Linked DNA regions of Homo sapiens: region 2 is linked to region 1. The links are contacts of gene promoters, found by promoter capture Hi-C in human tissues and cell types (Jung and others, 2019). All regions are on one chromosome and are shown on one strand. The core of a region is centred on a gene start or on the middle of the fragment in contact, and the rest is flanking DNA. Distances in the headings are between cores, read along the strand shown.

Region 1 (2,700 bases), core at 201-2,700:
CACCTGGCCTGGCAGCTCCAGCACCCCCACTCACTCCAGAACCCCTTACCCACCTGCGTGGGGCTCACTGGTGAATGTGTGCAGGGCAGAGGAGGTGGAACATGCCAAGGCTCCATGGGGAGGGAGGGAAGGGCCAGACAGGCTGAGGCTCCTCTCCATGGTCCAGGCTCCGGTCAGAGTCCCCACTGAGCACATACCAGGGGACCCCCAGCAGCAACCAGGCCCCCGAGCAGGTGTGACATCAGTGGGGGAACAGCACCTTCCCCACCCTTCTCTGAGCCCAGCATCAGTGGGTGGAGGAAGCAGAGCTGGGGCCTGGCAGCCTCTCAGGGCCTCCTAGGAGGGTGAACACCCAAATCCTGCCCTACCCAAATCCAGAACCAGGAGGCGGGGAGAGAACAGGCGGCCTCCCAAGGAAGGACTCACCCTGCTTGGCCATGCAGGAGGAGGAAGGCTGGCCTGAGAAGGATGTGAGACCAAAATAAGAACAAGCACACCCCCACCCCCGTAGGGCCGAGGAATATTCCCGAGGGTCCTGAATGTCAACGAAGTGCGTTTAAAGCCTCCGTCAGCCTTCTGTCTTTGGCTTTTCCTGCCAGGCTTCTGTAACTTCTGTGTTTTTACCCTGTTTTATTTATTTTTTAAGACGGAGTCTCGCTCTGTCACCCAGGCTGGAGTGCAATGGCACGGTCTCGGCTCACTGCCACCTCTGCCTCCTGGGTTCAAGCAATTCTCCATCCCAAAATATATTTATCTTTTAAAGGAAGCTTTATGTCACTAACATAAATGGAAAATGGTGTCCCTCCCCTAAGTAGAATGTGCTCTAGAAGAAAATGTACTGCAAATGTTAAAACCATAGGCCAAAATTCTAGCTAGAGATTCACACTTGGTAGAGGCTCTGCTTCCCAGGCCTACAGCTGTTTGTTAGAAAGAGGCATGGAGAAGCACTAGGCAGGAGCTAAAAACACCATGGCACCAAGAAGAGACTCCGTCCTTGAGTATACAGGAGGAGGGAGGAGAGTTAAAAATGAAGTCACTCTCCCCACCATGGTGTTCTCAGCCAGTGGGAGCTGCCCAGCCCACACCTCTGTGAGGCAGGCAGGACCGGTCACTGCTCCCACTTTACAGATGAGGAAAACTGAGATTCGGAGGAACAACCAGCAGAGCCACGTTTCTCAGGGGTCTCCTAGTTCCCACCTTCTGGGAGCAGGTGAGGGGCCACCCTCAGTCCTCCACAGACCTGATTCCAAAGCCCATCAAGGCACTGGCGGCACAGTGGGACCCCCTTCTATAAACCGGGGTTGAGATGTGGTTCTGTGCCCAAGGCGCGGGCCCCTGAGGGCCTCCTGCCTCTGGAAATAGGCCCCAAGGCTGCACTGGGGGGATAAGCCAGGCTATTTTCATCACTTCCTTCCGCCCGCTCCCGCAGCGGCCACCTCAGCTGTATCCCATAGAGTTGCCACCCAGGCCTCAGCCAGGACCTTTCAGGCCAGACAGGAGCACCTGACCAAAGGCTTCACAGGTAAGTGGCCCTCCGTATTACCCAGCATGGCCTCCCACAGGGAGAGAGGAGGTCAGTTCCTGTCCCTTTAACAAGACAGGGTTGGGTGGGACATTCCCTCTGAGACACCATCTCCTTGGCTGAGTCAAGATGAGTGAGTTGATTTGACACTTATTCACTGGAAACCTGCTGTGGGTAGGGGGAGCTCTGCTGGTGGAGGGGAAACGCCTGTGGGGAAGAACCAAACAGAGGGCCACGGTTGCCGAGACCCGAGTGTGAGTCTGGCCTCTGACACCACACCGGTGGCCCTGGGCACATTGCTTTCCCTCTCTGGGCCTCAGTTTCCCCAAGTCAGTGTTAGCCCAGATGAGTGGTTTTCCAGATGGGGTCCCACTGAGTTCCCCTCCCTGCTCCAGCCAGTGTCCCTGTCCTGCTGTCTTCTGCATCTGGGAATCAGGTAACAGCTCACTTAGCTGGTGGGGGGTGCTGGGCGCAGCCTGCAGGGCCCTCCAAGGCTCTTTCCTAGTCTCTGGGGACTGTGGTCCTGGGCTGGGACTCATTTAGCAGCCATCTGCTCCTCTCATCCCCAAGCAGGGGATGGGGTCTCTGCTAAGGGCCAGGAAGTCCCTTCCCCTTCCCAAAAACAAACTTACCCAATCCACAGCCGCCCTCACCGCCCGGCCTTCTACGGTGTCCAGAGACAGTTAGCCAGGCCTGGGCTGGGCACACTCCACCTTCCCTAGTCACCAGCTGGTTTCCCAGAGGAGAAGGCTGAGACCCGAGAAGGGAGGTGAGTGCACCCCGTCCCATGTCAGGCTCCGCTACATCCCCAGTGCTTGCCGTCCCTGAGGATCGGTCCAGGCTGCCAGGCCCTCCCTCACAGCCCCTCTCTCTGCAGCCAGCCTGTCCCATGCCTGCCTGGGGAGCCCTGTTCCTGCTCTGGGCCACAGCAGAGGCCACCAAGGACTGCCCCAGCCCATGTACCTGCCGCGCCCTGGAAACCATGGGGCTGTGGGTGGACTGCAGGGGCCACGGACTCACGGCCCTGCCTGCCCTGCCGGCCCGCACCCGCCACCTTCTGCTGGCCAACAACAGCCTTCAGTCCGTGCCCCCGGGAGCCTTTGACCACCTGCCCCAGCTGCAGACCCTCGATGTGACGCAGAACCCCTGGCACTGTGACTGCAGCCTCACCTATCTGC
Region 2 (2,700 bases), core at 59-2,558, 130 kb before region 1:
ATATCTAAGTGCATTAAGAGGTAGGATAAGGAAGACTGCAAATACTCTCAACATTGTTTGACTTTTTTTGTTTGTTTGTTTTTTTGAGACAGGGTCTCATTCTGTTGCTCTGAGTGCTGGAATGCAGTGGCGCGATCTTGGCTCACTGCAACCTTACCTCCCAGATTCAAGTGATTCTCCTGCTTCAGCCTCCCAAGTAGATGAGATTACAAGTGTGCACCACGACACCCAGCTAATTTTAGTATTTTTAGTAGAGACGGGTTTTGCCATGTTGGCCAGGCTGGTTTCGAACTCCTGGCCTCAAGGGATCTGACCGCCTCAACCTCCCAAAATGCTGGGATTACAGGCATTAGGCACTGTGCCGCATTGAGACAGGGTCTCACTCTGCCATCCAGGCTGGAATGTAATGGCGTGATCTCAGCTCACTGCAACCTGTGCTTCCCAGGCTCAAGCTTCAGTCTCCTGAGTAGCTGGGACTACAAGTACATGCCAGCATGCCCAGCTAATTTTCTGTAGAGACGGTTTCGCCATGTTGCCCAGGCTGGTCTCGAACTCCTGAGCTTAAGCAACCTGCCCACCTCGGCCTCCCAAAGTGGTATGAGATATATATATGTGTGTATATATATATACACATACATGTATATATATGTATGTATGTATATGTATATATGTATATATATGTATGTATGTGTATATATATATATATATTACACAAGAGAAATAAAAATGAATGAAATAGCCAACTAGAGAAGATAGAAAAAAGGAGAAAGGTGTAAGTTTTAAAGTATCATAAAAATAAAAGCTGAAGTTAATGAATTAGAAAAACAGAAAAAGCAGAATTGATAAATCCAAGAACTGATTCTTTTGAAAAAGCTAAAAAGTTTTTTCCACTAATGGAAAAAACAGCCAGGCACAGTGACTCACACCTGTAATCCCAACACTTTGGGAGGCCGAGGCAGGAGAATCCCTTGAGCCTAGGAGCTGGAGACCAGCCTAGGCAACACAGCAAGACCCAATCTCTAAAAAAAAAGTAAAAAAAATTAACCAGGTGTGGTGGCGCATGCCTGCCTACTCAGGAGGCCGAGGTGGGAGGACTGCTTGAGCCCAGGAGTTGGAGGCTGCAGTGACCCATGATCAAGTCATAGTACTCTAGCCTGGGCAACAGAGTGAGACCCCGATTCAAAAAACATAAAAGAAGTCTGTTCTTTGGTTTTCATAAAGACTGCACACATACAAAGCTTACAAGCTTCTAGGAGTCTTTGTTTTAAACTGGAGAATTGCAGGGATGGTAGGGCCTTCACACAGACCACAGGCACACAACTCCAAGTCATACCACAGATGTCTGTGTTTTCATGTCTTTTTGGTTGGCATGGGGTGAGCGAGGTTCTCCTTGCCCATTCAGGCCACACAGCACCAGCCTTCTACCCCCTCACCAGCTTCTCAGTCTCCCATTCTCTCCCTCTGTCATGCAGATTAGTTTATGTCCCATGTTGCTTGGACATCTTATGACACTTATGCCCTGAGCAGCGTAAGCAACATGTTACACACACACACACACACATGCCACAGTTCTTTCTCTACAATGAACTCTGGGAGCCATGGTAAAGGTAATATAGCTAATAGCATTCCTTCTCACCTTTCAGGAAGGACAAGGTTATCTAGGACTGGGAGTGAAGGTTTCTGACATGGCTCAGCCCCACATCCTGCACTTCTTGCCCATCCAGCAGGGTAGCCCAGGCCAGGAGCGCAGGCACGACCAGAGGCAAATGTCCCACTCAGGAATATGCCCTATGCCTCTCAGCAGGCGCCTGGACCGCCCAGGTGAGGCCTGGGAACCCCAAGTTGGGGAGGAAGGCGGCCCACCTGGATGAAACTGTGCTTTTTGTCTTTGTTCTTCATAAGCATGGCACTCCGCCACTGCAGGTACTTCTCCTGGTGGGCGTGGATCTCTAAGGTGAGGGTGGAGTTCCGACTGTGGTAGTCCTCAAGATTGGGGGCAGGCTGAGGTGGTAGGGCAAACAGTTTCTCATCTGTGAGTTCTTCTTGCGAAAGGGGCATCCCAAACTCTTGGCTCAAGTCTTTTATCATAGCAGAGGAGGGCAGCAGGTCCCTCACCGTCACGTCCCAGAGGGTGGTGCTGTTATAGCAGATGTCGTGGATCCTGGAACAAAGAACCACTGCCCCACTGAACCTCTCCTACCTTGCAAGACAGGTGTAATCACTCCCATCCTACAGCAGGAAATGAACACTCAGAGGCTGCTTAGCTGGTCCCAAGTCCTGGAGCTTGTGACTAAAGAGCTCCAATTCCAGTCTGCTGAGCCTGGGCTCCTGGCAAAAGCCTCCTTCTCCATCTTCTCCCCAGCCCCCAGAAGCCAAAGGCTGCCCACGGTTTGCTCTGAGTGCTGCTCTGTTCCTGTGTCCTTAGCCATGCTTCCCCTCCTCCCATACCCCATCGGGACACAGCCCCACCAGCTGCCCATCAGGGATGTAGAGCACAGAGCCTTCCGCACCAGGAGGACATCATACACCGAGCCTCAGGGGGCTGGCTGTTAATAGAGGAGAAGGAGGAGGCTGGAGAGAGAGTCCTCAGCAAAGCTCAAGGACCTCCCCAGCCCCAAAGCCTCCTCCTGGGTGCCCTCTGCCATGGCCTGGTGTGCAGTGGGCATTGGGTCCAGAAACCATGCTCAGTCATGGCTGTTG

The links. The method cuts DNA at HindIII sites, captures the fragments that hold promoters and counts their contacts. A contact is called where the count stands out against the background at its distance.
Region 2: a contact is called between a fragment that was not itself captured here and the fragment with the promoter of GP9 in region 1, in 3 of the 25 tissues and cell types used here (IMR-90 fibroblasts, aorta and spleen).

What each region holds. Positions count from the first base shown.
Region 1 is chr3:129,059,329-129,062,028 of GRCh38, forward strand. It overlaps GP9 (glycoprotein IX platelet), which reads left to right and starts at 1,451. Exons shown (of 3, transcript NM_000174.5): 1 at 1,451-1,522; 2 at 2,166-2,291; 3 at 2,400-2,700. The coding sequence starts at 2,412. The HindIII fragment of the contact is 8,053 bases long and covers 1-2,700 here.
Region 2 is chr3:128,930,837-128,933,536 of GRCh38, forward strand. CFAP92 (cilia and flagella associated protein 92 (putative)) reads right to left here. Exons shown (of 16, transcript NM_001394090.1): 12 at 1,864-2,161. Among named protein-coding and RNA genes, the nearest start is that of ACAD9, 53 kb to the left of the region's middle. RefSeq lists an enhancer at 1,378-1,879. The HindIII fragment of the contact is 4,812 bases long and covers 1-2,700 here.